Linked DNA regions of Homo sapiens: region 1 is linked to region 2. The links are contacts of gene promoters, found by promoter capture Hi-C in human tissues and cell types (Jung and others, 2019). All regions are on one chromosome and are shown on one strand. The core of a region is centred on a gene start or on the middle of the fragment in contact, and the rest is flanking DNA. Distances in the headings are between cores, read along the strand shown.

Evidence for each region. Contacts are between HindIII fragments. The study calls those that stand out against the background at their distance.
Region 1: a fragment that was not itself captured here is called in contact with the fragment with the promoter of HOXC12 in region 2 in 3 of the 25 tissues and cell types used here (H1 embryonic stem cells, neural progenitor cells and thymus).

What each region holds. Positions count from the first base shown.
Region 1 is chr12:54,078,852-54,086,100 of GRCh38, reverse strand. The region is part of intron 1 of FLJ12825 (a long non-coding RNA gene); the gene reads right to left. It overlaps LOC100240735 (a long non-coding RNA gene), which reads left to right and starts at 4,278. Exons shown (of 3, transcript NR_026658.1): 1 at 4,278-4,462; 2 at 5,757-5,874; 3 at 6,661-7,249. RefSeq lists an enhancer at 4,745-4,964 and a silencer at 6,262-6,556. The HindIII fragment of the contact is 4,422 bases long and covers 2,317-6,738 here.
Region 2 is chr12:53,952,242-53,958,646 of GRCh38, reverse strand. It overlaps HOXC12 (homeobox C12), which reads right to left and starts at 3,744. Exons shown (of 2, transcript NM_173860.3): 1 at 3,108-3,744; 2 at 1-2,319. The coding sequence starts at 3,717. The coding sequence ends at 2,081. LOC105369775 (a long non-coding RNA gene) reads left to right here and starts at 2,220. Exons shown (of 3, transcript XR_944977.2): 1 at 2,220-2,305; 2 at 2,680-2,756; 3 at 4,368-5,262. The HindIII fragment of the contact is 7,954 bases long and covers 3,048-6,405 here.

The DNA of each region.
Region 1 (7,249 bases), core at 3,278-5,777, 130 kb before region 2:
CTGCTGGGGTGATTAATGGGGGTGAACGGAGGGTGAAACTCAAGCCCTTCCAAAGAAGATGGTGGGGAATGGTTGTCCAAGAACAACAGTCCACTGTTTCATGGAGAAAGCCAATGTCCAGGGGAGGGGTGGCTGAGAAGGACGCTAGGCACAGTTGCTCCTTCCCTTTTTTCCCAAGTTCTCTTTATTGACCACCAAACAGTAAATTAAACTATATTAGCCAGTTCCAGGGGACCCTCTGGATGGGCTTCCTACCTGCCTCCTGGCTTGGGAGAGACCAAGGAATGTTGGCGTGGCTTGGAGAAAGAGTGAGTGAGGTCTGGGCTGAAAGATGAGATGACTCCATGGACCACCCCCTCGTGGAGCACAAAATGGTGATGTGCTGGCAAGAGCCACTGGCTCCCTCTGGACCAGACAGGCACTGAGAGATCCATGGGGGCTGGGCCCTCAGGTGTCCTGTAGAAAGTGGTAGTGTTCTTAGAGCAGTTTTCAGAGCAGCCCCTTGGCCTCAGGGAGGGACGCAGGGCTCCTTTTCTGTGAGAGAGAGAGAGTTGGGGAAACAAGGAGAGAGGGCTTCCCATGGCCCTGGTTTCAGGGTATTGACCTGGGTTTGAATAATGGAGATAAAACTTGTAGGAAATAACAGGTTTAAGCCACTCTCCCCTCATTTCCTACTTCTGTCTCTTCCTCTAGGTACAGCTGTTGGGAGCTGCCTCTCCTGCCCTCAATCTCCCTGCCTGTAGTTCCAGAGGGAAGAAGAGGGGGAAAAAAGGATGAAGAGAATTATTTCAGTGCTGGGGGAGGTGAGCTTATAGCAGGGATTTAGATGGGAATTACCTCATGGGATAGGAGCAATTTTCTCCCTCTCCAGGCCTCTTACAGATGTGAAACAACTGGCAGATCTGACTTTCCCACCCCTAACCATCGGAGGGGATGATGTGTCTTGAAACCTGTGCCTCTCGATTGAGAGGCTGGTGGGGGAAAGAGAGGTCAGGAAAAGGGGCCAGATGTGTGTTCAGGGGTCCCCAGAGAGTTGAGGGAGACTAGCATCTCCTTAGGGTAAGGAAGGCAAAATGCCCATTCCTGATCCCAGATTGCTTAGATACTGTGCCTGGGTGTCCTCCCACCTCGCCTTAATTCCTGTCTCCACACACAGCTTGGCCAAGTTTCTTCCCCTGTTGGAGTCTCACTCCCAATCCCCTACTCTATCTCTCCAGGAGCCTACAAAGCACTTTGAAATCTGAAGTTTGTGGGAGGTGGCTGTATTGCACAAATACTCTGAGGTGCAACATGACTTGACTGGTAATGAGGCAACCATCCCACCTAGGGCAGAGTTCAAGGACTGCCTTCAAGAGGGGCTGGCCTCAGTTTGCCTGTTACAGAAGCCAAGGGCTAACAGAGACCGCCCTCTGCCTCATAAAGAAGGAGATAAATGGGTCCACTGGAGAGCAACGGTCACAATCAAGTCTTAATGATGAATTAATAATTCATAATTACCCCAGACTTGCAGATAAGCACAAGCCCACTGGAATTATTTCCCAGGGAGGAACACAGTCAGAAAGGGTAGGAAGGGGACTTCAGTACAGACATTACTTCCAGAGGCCATTAAGTTCATTCCTCTGCTTCCCAACCAGAACCTGGAAGAGATCCATTAGCTTCCTTGGCTGATTTCTCCTAACAGCTACCACCCCCTGAGCTTCTAAACAGTGCCATATTGCCCCTCTGTTCTTCATAAGGCCAGAGGACCATTCCTGCCAAAGTGACCTCAGAGCCTGGACTCTGGATTTCTGGGGTCTCTCTGTTCTCTGCTCCCCATTCTGCTATTTACATACGAGGTCCCCTGTAGGAGGGCCTGGTGCTAGCTGTCCCGGCGAGATGTGGACATCTTTCTGGCTCTTCTCCTTCTCTTATCTAAGTCCTCACACAGTGGGAAAATACCTCTCCAACGCTATGTAGAAAGAGAAGCAGGGAGTGCCCCTTCTAGCGTGCATGCCTTTGGTTCCCAGATCTGGATTTGAGGGGCTGGCTCTATTTCTTAAGAAGACATTTACCTAGCATCGATCATGGAGATCGGGCCTAAATAGGGCTAGGGAGGCACACCCAACTCCAGACCCAGCTCTCTGCTGTTCCCCTTCCCAGTGCACACGATCCCAAATTCCCACTCCAGAAAAATTTTTAAAAACATATCTTAAAAAAACCTCGAAGAGCCAAGCAGACCCTCAGCTTCAAGGTATCTCCTCATTCCCTCTCTCTCTCTCTCTCTCTCTGTCTCTCTGAATCTACAAAGAAGGAGTGAGTTTTGTCTCTCCAAGTACTCAGAGCCTTAGATCACAAAGGGGCCTTAGATTCTGGTCTTTAGGAGATCTTTAACCACCATCTCTGCTGTGGCACGACCTTTTTCAAAATGCTAGAAAGAAGAGAGACTGGCTCTTAGACCAAGGGGATTTGGGATTCGAAAGGACTTCCAATTCCAGTTCTATAGATTTCCTTCCCATTAGCCTCTTCATGTGCATCAAATGTAAATGGCAGGCTAAACCTTCAGGATGAAGAGAGTTGAAAGACTGCTGCCTAAAAATACCCTTGTCCAAATCTGTGGGTGCAGAAGCACATTGAAAAGCAGCTACCCAGCCTGGGGGTGTGGCACATGCCTGCAGTCTCACATACTTAAGAGGCTAAGGTGGGAGGACTACTTGAGCCCAGGAGTTTGAGGCTTCAGTGAACTATGATGGTGCCACAACACTCCAGCCTGGGAAACAGAGCTGGACCCCATTTCCAAAAAAAAAAAAAAAAAAAAAAAAAAGTAGTTACCCAAGTAAGGTGGATGATCAAGTACACCCAGTGAGAAGCACACAAACCTTACCCTTTACCCAAACTCTCTCCCTTACCTGGCCCATTTCCGGTCTCTAGAGGAGGATCAGTTAGGGGGTGTGACCCAAGTTACCCAGATAATTAACGGTGGAAGCACGAGTTGTTTTTTTTTTTTCCCACTCCTTTGGCCTCTAAATATGAGAGATCTTTACATCTCTTGCCTAGCTCCCTCTTATTCTCTACCCTCTCCCCAACACGCACACAAATCCTAGCAACAAAAAATCCCAAATATAGGAAGACAAACCTTCCTGACCTACCATTTTGGCCCACCTGCAACCCCTGTCTCCCGCCCCCCCCCCCCAATTTTTTTCTCTCCTGAGCCTCTGCTCTTCGCTTCTAAAATAAAATAAAAAAAAAGAAGAAGGAATTTTCAATAGTCCCACTTGTCAAGCGAAGACCATCTTTTAACCTTCAACAGCAGCGAAAGCCGTGTGAACTCTCGGTGAACCAAGATTGAAGTCATAAATCACGCGTACAAAGGCGGCTGCGGAGGCTGGCGCGAGCTGCTGCACCTTTAACGCTTTCTGGGGCTGACAGGCGGCGGCCCAGCTAAAGTTCACAGCGCCAGGGGAGGGCCCGCCTCCGCCTCCCCTCCCGCCCCCGCCTCCCCTCCCCCAGCCCGGCCCCGGCCCCGGCCCCGGCCCCGGCCCCGGCCCCCGGCCCCGGACCGGCCCGCCGCACGGCCGCCTGAGCTGCGAGCTGAGGAGGCCCCTTGGCTGTTCCCGCAAAGGGCGGGGGGCTCATTTTCTCTACTGCCAGCCCGCTCCATCCTGGTCGTTTATTCCTTGCCTTCCCTCACCCCCCACCCACACAGCCTGCTGTATGTAAATAGGCAAATAGATCTACACGGACACAATAATTTAGCTCGTTTGGTCTTTGGCATTTTCTACAAGACCCCAAGAGATGGACTTTCCTTTCCCCTTCCTCCTTTTAGAAATGGCATCCTTCATCTCTGTCTATGCAGGCCCAATTATCCAGATCCTCGGGGCTCCAATAGGGTCTGAGTCATTGGAACCAGGAACACCTGGCTGAAACATGCCACATAATTAGATTTTCTTTTTCTTTACCTTTTCTTTCTTTTTTTTATAAGAGGGCCAGAATTAGCCTCTTCGACTGGGGCAGAGTAGCTGGGGTGTGGAAAAGGAACACCTTCATACAACTTCCAGCTTTCAGCCCCTTGGAGAGATCTCCAAGTTCCCCCGAGCCGCCAGGACTTCCTTTCCTCGATCTCTCGGCCGCCTTCTCCTCCTTCTCCGATCGTTTTTTTTCCCCTCCCCCCACTGTCTTCTCTACGGTTTAATTAAAGTTCAGCGACTCCACTTGCCTCTCCTCTCATTTCTTTCGGAAAGCGGAAACCAGACGACCCAGCGGCCACGGGACGAGCCGCCCCAACTCAACCCCAGCAGGACGCTGGAGGGGCCTCCCTCGCCCGCCTGTCTTCGCCGGCGCTGGTCTCCCGCACCCGGGTCTGCAGTCCCTCCGCCATCTCGCAGGTGTGCAGCCGCTAGGCCTGGGGGATCCGAATGACTGGGGCTGGATAGGAATGCCTTCGTGTTTCCCAAGACCCCCGGGCCTGCTCCACAAAGTTTGAAGGGTGGGTACACCCCGACCCAGGCAAGTTGCTCCCCCAAACCCATGACTGACTAATCTGATATGACAAAAGCCCATGATGGATTTGGTATATGTTAATTCACAATGCCCTTTCCTCCAGAATTTAACTATAAGTTAATACACACCGGAAACCACGCGCATACACGCTCCTTAATGGGCTTAGGTATTAGCGAGTCCTAACGATGCATACAAATGTGCTCTGCGCTCTGTAGGCCCCTCAAGATTTATGGGCCTTGAGCTCTCTGAAGCTGTAAACAAGGAGAAAAAAAAAAGAGAAAGCGAAAGCGACTGGGGGGAAGAGACAGAGGCCTGACTCGCCCCTCCAGGTTGTGGGAGAGAAGGGATTCTTTACGTATTTTCCTTTCCTTGCAAGCTCGGTGCGTGTGGGTTTTGGCGTTGGTCTGGGGGTGGTGTTCTGCCTGAATGCTGGTGTGCATGGGCAGTGTGTTGTTTGGGTGCTGGGGTAGGATGCCTGCCTCTTCGGATTGCTGTGCAGGGGCCTGAACACAGCAGGCATTTGTGAGCATATATGCGTGAGTGTGCACTGTGTTAGGGTGTGTGTGTGTGTGTGTGTGTGTGTGTGAGAGAGAGAGAGAGAGAGAGAGAGACAGAGAGAGAGAGGCAGGCTTCCCCCTGGGCCAGGCTGCTGTCCCCTGAACGGTGGTGAACAAATCTCTAACAACAATCATAATAACAATAAATAATGAATAATAATAATAAAACAGTAGTTAACAGTCCCTCCATAACAGAATAACAATAAAATGCAAGAGGAAATATTTTGAGGTGGAGACAGAAGAAGGAGTCAGGATCACAGCATCTGAGGGGGAGATAGGAAAGGAAGGGAGGAAGAAAGCTTCTTAATATGCTCTTGGCGGGGCTGGGGTTGGGAACCCCTTTCCCAGACAAGGGACAGAAGAGGGGAAGGAGGGCCAGGAGGCCACTCTTTATTGCTTTTTTTCTCAGGCTTCTGCTTTGTGTGATCAGGGAAGGGATCCCACATATGGGGATGGTTAATGGCTTTTGGGACTCTCTAGGAGCCCCTGTTTTAAGAAGGAGGCCAAATGTGCAGGCTCAGGCCAAGGGGCAGAGATGAATGAGGCGATGACCACAGCCTTGATCCGGCAAGAGCTCAGAGATGCCCGGGAAGACGGGAAGACTGGGGGCCCGAACGGAAGCAGAAAAACACTTATGGCCGCTGGGGAGTTGGGAGAGCCAGGCTGGGGCTTCGGCAGGCCCAGGGAAAGTTCCCTTTCTAGGCTCTTTATTAAAAAATTTAGAAGGAGGAGTTGAGGCGCCTTGAATTTTCCTTCGCGAGTTTGGAGACTAGCCGATTTTTCATGAAGCAAGCAAAGACCGCGGTCCCGGATCCGGCAACATCTACCTCATTCTCTCCAGGTACAGTTTTCTGGTCATTTAATTAGTTTGTTTTCTTGGGGGAGATGGGAATCACAGGGGTAGAGATAGTAAGTTTGCTAGAGAGGAAGCCACCCCACAGTTTCGGGTCTAACGAAATCCCTCCTTTAAAAACAATTGTACCCCCAATAAAAATAAAATTAAAGAGGAATATAGAAACACAAATTAGCCAACTTTTTTAAAAGAGAAAAAAGAAAAGAAAATCATCATAACAGATGAGCGTGAGAACTTCTAAAAAATTTGTCACAAACCCTTTCAGAGGTCTGGATTCTTTTTCAGTAGCCGGTGACCCATTTGGTCTGAAAAGAGAAATACACTATCCAGTGAGTCACTTATTTAAAGCCAGCACGCGCACACACACACACACACACACACACACACACACATATATTCAGAAAGCCCTGGGTTCCTTCGCATTTGAGAACAACACCGGGTGGAGGACGCTGCGATACCTAATCGGACAAAACAGCAATAAAATAAGACCGGTGGAAGCGCTGAGCGCAGGGTGCAGGGCTAGGGCCCAGGTTTTGTGTTCCAGGCCGCCGGCGAGGCAGCGGCCCCGGGCGATGGGGCGCCGGGCGATCAGGCACCGGCTGGGGACTCCGCTCGGCCTCCGCAGCCTGGCCTGCAGCCCCTTTCCCCCAGCCTCTGGGCCTCGTGGGCTCTCTCCGCTCCGACGCCTGGTCGGGGCTTCCCTGTTGAGAGGGTTTTAGGCCGAAGGGCCAAACGACTCAAGCCAGACTCTGCTTTTTCATTTTTCTCCCTTAGGCCTCTCCACTTGCCCGAGCTCTCAGCCACCAGGAGACAGAAGGAAGGGACTTCTGGGCTGCGTTGGGAGCGGGCACTGTCCCCTATCTACTCCTGCTCGGTTTCCCAAAGTCCAGCGACATCCGACCCTCCTGGGGGGAAAAATACCAGTACCCAGACACCTCTGCACCCTGTTATATGACTGGGCTTGCTTCAGGAATATCTTACAAAGAAGAAGAAGAAGAAGAAGAAAGAACAGCTTGGAGTCATGTTTACATCTAGTTCTACTGACCGGTTCCCATCTGGAGAGTTTATTTATAACTCCCTCTATAACTCTCTGTTTGGAGGCACTGGTGGCTCTATTGACAGACTGATGTCTAGGAAATATTGCTCTATGTCTAACCGTACCTAAATGTGCTGTGGTTGTATTTACAGATTTATGTTTGAGGGAAATATAATTATTTCCATTGTATTTGTGCATATACAGTAGTTATAGGAGCAGATTTATATATGGGAAAATATACGACTCTCTTACAGCCATCCGGCTTTATGTACATGTGATATCCTGACAGATTTATATCTCTGAACAGCTATATAGATAAAAACGTAT
Region 2 (6,405 bases), core at 2,495-4,994:
TTAGATTGGGAATCAGGTTAGTCTGGAGTGGTAGAGCTCAAATCCAGCACCCTAGAGCCCAGAGGTCACAGGAAGGGCTGCATAAAGGGGGTACAGTGGGTGACCAGTCAAGGTGGGGAGTGCTTCATGCCCAGGGGAAGACCACAGGAGACTGCAGACAGCTGGAATGGTGGTAATTTGGGGGAACTTGTACATGGGTGAAGCAAGTATGTGTGGATGGGGAATTGTCAGGTGTCAGATACCCAGCGGGGGATGGAGGCATGTGATTTTATCTCCATTCTGCTGGGCCATGTGGGGATTATGAGGCTGCCTGCTTGCGAGTGCACTAGGGAGAGTGGGGTGGGCCCAGTGCTGTGCTGGGCTCAGCTGTGTGTATGTGTTTGCCTTTGCCTCTGCCTGTACAGAAGCTGTGTGCTGGTGGGAGAGTAAAAAGCTCGGTGGATTGCCTTTGGAGAGTTTGTTAGGGGAGACTCTCCCCATATGGGAAACACTCCAAGCCAGCAGGCCAGTTTCACACTGTCCAGGCTGCAGTTAACTCCCATCAGTGCCCTGCTTCTCACCCCTCTTGCTCCTGGAAAGGGCCGGACAGCAGATGGGAGGCTGGGGGACTCTTGGGGAGAAGGATAAAAATGAAGTACAGAAAGGTTGATGGTTCTCTCACTGCTCCTCTCTTCCAAGCCAGCCCAGCGTCTACTGGGCTGGGGCTGGGGTCTGAAGGAGTCTGGATGAAAGTCCTTCCCACTCAGAGAAGCCATTCTCAGACCTCCAATGGGTTCTAGGGCTGTGCCCCTCCCTCTGCTCTGGTCCATGTGCTAGGCTGTGGAGGTTTGCAGGCCAGGAGGCGGAGGCAGCCCTTCTGAAGACAAAGGGCAATGTTGGGGGGCGGGCGAGGAAGAGAGAAGGGAGTTGGGTGGGGGGCTGGAGCGCCCCCCTCCTTCATTCTCACGGGCCTGGGAAACTGGGGCTGAGTGGGACCTCAATGGCTGGTAGCCCCTTTAAGGGTGAATTCTCCTCCCGCCTCGTAAATTACGCTGGTCCACCCTCTGGCCGGCCCGTGAGGCAGTGACCGTGAACGCCAGCGGGGAAGGGAGAATCAGAGGCCTCGGCTGTGGCTGTCAGAAATTCTCCCGGCCAATCAGTGTGGTGCTCCGTAGCCCCATCTACAGCCTCTTGCACTTTCTTTCTGGAGAGCCAGCTGGGGACCTCTGGGGTGGCTACTGAACCTGAGGCTGTGTCCCCTGGGCTCTCAGGTCCCTGCTTGCTGCATCAGGCCTGCAGCCACCGCAGGCAACGGAGGAGTGGATGGCAGCACACCTATGAACAGACATTCGCCCGGTGCGGGCAGCGGGATCAGGAGAGGGCTGGGGACCAGGACACTGTTCTGGTCCTAGAGGGAACATGAGGCTGATAGTCCTTGTCCACAGCCCGGCCAGCCAAATGCCCAAGCTTCTGCCCACTGGGTGTCCTGGGGGACCCAGACCCAAGCAGACTCTGGTTCTTGCTAATCATTTTCTCACAAACCACACTTCCTCCTTGGTTCCCCACTTCCTCCAGCCCTACCAGAGACACCTGACTCCCTCAGCTCTCTCCGCTGACCCTCCACCCTCCTCTCTCTTCCCAGCCTCTTCTAACCCCAGGAACTGTGAGGTTGAGGTGCCTTGGTTCCACTGGCCCTGCTCTTTGCTCCTGACGGCAAAGAGAATTAAGACCATGGAAGGGAAGTAGAGGAAGGGGACATCTGGGCCGCTGCTTCTCCAGATCCTCAGCGGAGGTGCAGTGCCCCAGTCCTGCCTCAAATAAACCAGCCCGCAGCACCTCAGCCTTCCTGCCCCTGCCAACCGCAGGCAGCTGCCGGCTTCTGCTCTCCCTGGCTAGGTTTCTTCCCTTCTCTCTGGGACCTGGCAGGGTGTTTTGGGTGTGTATGGGAGGGAACCACGAACAAAACAGACAAGAGGATATCCAGGGAGGGCCTGCCAGAGACGCCTGGCGTTCTAAGTGGGGACTGTGTTCTAGGCGGCGCCCTCTTTTGCTCTCTGCCAGGGACAGGCTCAGTCTGGGGCTGGCGCCCGTGTCCTGCACCTTAAAAGAAGGAGAGAGCTTGCTCCCTCAACAGAAGTCTTTTCTTTTTCATTCTCCGGTTCTGAAACCAGATCTTGACCTGCTGGTCACTAAGATTCAAGCGGTCTGAGAGTTCCCTCCGGCGCTGGCGTGTGATGAACTCGTTGACCAGAAACTCGCCCTCCAGCTCTGCCAGTTGCAACTTCGAATAGGGCTTGCGCTTCTTCCGAGAGCGGCTGTTGATCGGGTACCAGGGCGCGCCTGGGTGGAGATGAATGGCAGGGGTTGGCCAAAGGATCAAAGGGTGACCAGTCCAGTGCCCTTGGCCCTTCCCCAGACCCTTTCACCTTCGCCTCACAGCTGGACTCCAGGCCCTTTCTCTCCCTTCTCCTTGCCGCCAGTCATCTGAATCGTCTTTTCTACCCAGACCCACATCCCCACCAACTCCCCCACTTTCTTTACTCTTTTTTTTCCTTTCATTCTTTGCTCTTACCTCCTCAACCCTACCTCCTGCTGCACTATTCATGACCCTTCTAAGTCCCTATCCCCTCCTTTTTTCCCAAACCTCTCCCCAATTTTCTTCTTCCCTATTTCCTGGTCCCTTCCTCTCACATCCTTCAGGACTGGATCCCGGATCAGTTACAACAGATATGGGCGAATGGCAGAGTAAACGCATCCACTGGCATTTCTTTCGAAATGTAAGTAATGGGGTCTGTGGGAAGGTGGAGGGAGAGGCGCCTGGGAGAACTAGGGCCGGGCTTTCTGTCCCCACCTCCTCACCCCCAGGCCTGGGGAGTCCCCGTCAGGATCCCCCAACTCCGGAATCCCTGCCGCCTCCAGCCGCAGGCAGACGAAAAAGGAACACTCTCCATTTCTTTTGTGGGGATGTTTACATGTTTATAGGCTCCCCCCACCCGCACTTCATTTTATAAGAAGCTCTTCCTCGCCACACATTCTGTCACCCTGGGCGTCCCTAGCTCAGTCCTGTTCTGCCCGCCCTGGTAAGAGGTCGGGTTTGAATCCGCCGCTTGAGTGGCCGGGGTCCTTACCGCTGGCCGAGAGCCCGCCGCCGGGGTTCAACGGCGATACCAAGCTGCCGGGGTCGCCTGCGCCGGCGCCCTTGTTGCCCTCGTTGAGCAGGGACGAACTGGAGTCGGATTCCAGCGACTGGCAGGAGGGCGGGTCGTGCGGAGGTCCTGCGCCGCCGCCGCCGTCGCCACCGCCGCCGCCCGCCGCGTAGTCGTACTTGAAGCCGAGCGCAGGCGGCCCCGACGGCTCCAGCGGGAGCAGCGCTGCCCCGGGCCCGGCTCCCGGGTCGCGCCCGCGCTCCTCACGCTTCAGGCCCCCGCCGCCACCCTCGGCGCACGGCTCGCGGTAGTAACCCTTGCCGTCCTCCACGCGCGCCAGCTCGCACGTGCGGCCGAAGGGAGGGTTGAGAGACACTGGGCTGCCGAGGTAGGGCTGCGGGTAGCCATTGCACGGCTCCGCCGACGGCCAGGACAGGGAGCACACGTTGTCGCGGCGTGGGTAGGACAGCGAAGGCAGCCCGGGAAGCTGCGCCCCGGACGCGCGGAAGTTGGGGAAGTAGAAGGTGTCTCCCGTGTGGATGTTTACCAGCGGCCCCACAAACCCGGGATTCAGGAGATTATGCTCGCCCATTTCCGCGGGGCCCGACCGGCAGCTTCTACTTTATTGCTATCTGACATTAAACATAGTTAAATCTGCACCAGTCACCCATTGGCCGCCCCACTCACGTGGGCACGGCCGCCAGGGGGAGGGGTGGGGACAACCGATCCCCCCCCCCCACCATCCCATCCCGCACTCTAACTTCCCCCTTCCCCAATCCTGGGGGTGAGTGGGGTAACAAAGGGCGGGGGCAGGTTTATTTGCTGAACTGATTTTCTAAAACAATGTATATAACCTAACGCAGAGAGTAAAGCAATTGCCCAACACGGGGCAAAAGGGAAAAAACACACACCAAAAAATGCCCGCATATATACACCCCTATAACCTGCACCCCCCCCCATATATTATCTTATCGCCAACAGCTGGCCAAGCACAGCCTGTCCCTCTTTAATTAGCTTCTTTATTAACTAAAACCGTTGGAATTTACAATATCTCCTCAATAAATTACTATTAGATATTGTGTCATATAAAGTTTACTGACTGTTTAAGGAGACGGATGAGCCCTTTGGCTCGGGGTTTATTTACAGTAGAGGCGAAGTGGGGGTAAGGACAGGTTTCCCTGCCGTTATCTCTTCCCGCCCCAGCTGCTGCTGCACACTTCTTTATCAGCTCTTTATCCTCAGGAATTTGGAGAGACATTTGGAGTCCTCTTCCCCAATACTCAAGGATAATTGATAATGCCGGGTTTTCCTCTGGAGCCGGGAGCCACCCAGCCTCACACCTCCACTCACGGCTAGAGGAAGGATGCGGAAGGGAGGTAGAGAATGCAGCAAAAGGAGGTGCCTAGCTCCACATGGACCTGCCTGCCTGCTCCTGAAAATCTGGGGGCGAACTACTCTTCTGCTGTCATTTCCGGGGAACTGAGGAGCTTCTGGGGGCCTCCTGGAGTCTTTGCAGTGGGAAGCTTTGGACCCCTAACAGGGCTTGACTGGGCTGAGAGGGGCCTAATTCTCACTGCGGAGGAGACAACTGCACCCCAGAACCGGCCAAGCCTGCCCCTGGGACCATCAGATAGCAGTGCAGAGGCCCGCAGTAGGTTGCCTCCTGAGGGGGCTAGGATTGAGGGAAAAAACCCTTGAAGAATTATCTTATTGGGGGGTGAAATTATATTTATGGTGCAAACTCAGAAGCTCCCTCCAGAGAAGGCCGAGAAGCAATGCTGGCCATTGGTGAGATAATCAACATCTGCAAAACCACAATCCGATCTCAACTAGGTCCACAGAACACAGCCAAGCGGATTAAAAAGAAAGACAAAATAAAACTCCCCCAAACCAGATGTATCCTTTTGGGGTCTAATAGAAAAAACACTCGAATTTCCATGTGATTATTTCGAGCTTCTAACCAATGCATGGCTTAAGTAATACAGGGTTGGATAAATAGTTCAGTAAACGTCTAAATACGAAAAAATACCAGAAGATTGAAAGAAAATTGGAGACAGAGATTCGGAGAGAATGAGAAAGAAACCCATTTAGGTGAAAGTTAAATATCAGAGAAAGCCTGAGAATAAGCCAAAGCTGCAAAAGCAGATCGAAGCAGAGAAGATTCTCCCTTTTTTTCCTCTCCCTCCCCTCTCTCCTCTGCAGGACGCGGCAGAGAGAAACGCAGATTCTTTGAATTCCACCGCTCCCCGGGCGATTTCATATCCCAAACCGTAGCTGCTCACTCCGACAGAAATGTGTCCCCGCGGGCGCCGCCCTGCCCGGAGCAGTTCGAAGCTCGCAGCTCGGTGCCTGTCCCTTGCCCTGCTTGGCCGGTTCCCCTTCCCCGCCCCTGCTTGCCTAGCTGCCCGGCCTGGTCCAGCCCCTCCCGCCCCCAGGAGCCGGCCCCGCGTTAGGCGCACTTGTCGGAACTTAGGGCAAGCCATGGGCTGCAAACCCGAAGCCGCCACCTTCAGTTAGAGCCGGTGGCGCCAAGGAATGAGCAGGAGACTCAGCCTGGATTGGCCTTTTTGTGCCTAACTGATAAGGGGCTGGGAGGCTACGGAGAGGAGCATCTCTCAGCTGCAAATTCCAGGTCACAGCATCTGTAACATCTTATTTCCCCTTCTCAAGATACATTGATGAGCGCCATTGAAATTTTAGTTTTTAAAAAACATTTTATTTGAGGGTTAATTTGGTCATAAAGATAAACAGGGTGTGACATTAATATTGCTGTTGATTTCAATCAGAACATCGTGCGGGCAGCTAGGTCTGCGCCCAGGCTCTCCAGGCCTCTGCGCTCAGCCGCTATTGTTGGTGTGAGGGATGCCGAGCTGGGCTTTGCCAAATAATCACTAGCCTTTGAGGGGTGGAGTATTCTCCTCATTCTCTTTTCCCTTCCCAGATAATTCCAATCTCCTAGAAGAGGGACCCCAAGAGGAAGGTCTCAGCCTCTCCCCATTCCCTCCACCCCAGCAGGCAACTCCCAGGCCGGGAGCTCTGCTCGCTGCCCTCCCAGGCCAGGCCGCTGAGCGTGAGGAGCAGCGGCCACAGGGCGGCGGATGCAACGCAGGAGAAATGAAGATTGGGTGAAGGCGTCCTTCTTCCAGGCACGCATTTCTTCTAGCCTGATTTAGCCTCATCAAAGAGGGCCGTTTTCCCCAGGTTTTGGATTCGGCGGGCAAAGAAGCACGCACAAACCCCTCTTTCTTCTTTGCAGCTGACCCTGATTCCTCTCAGGGAG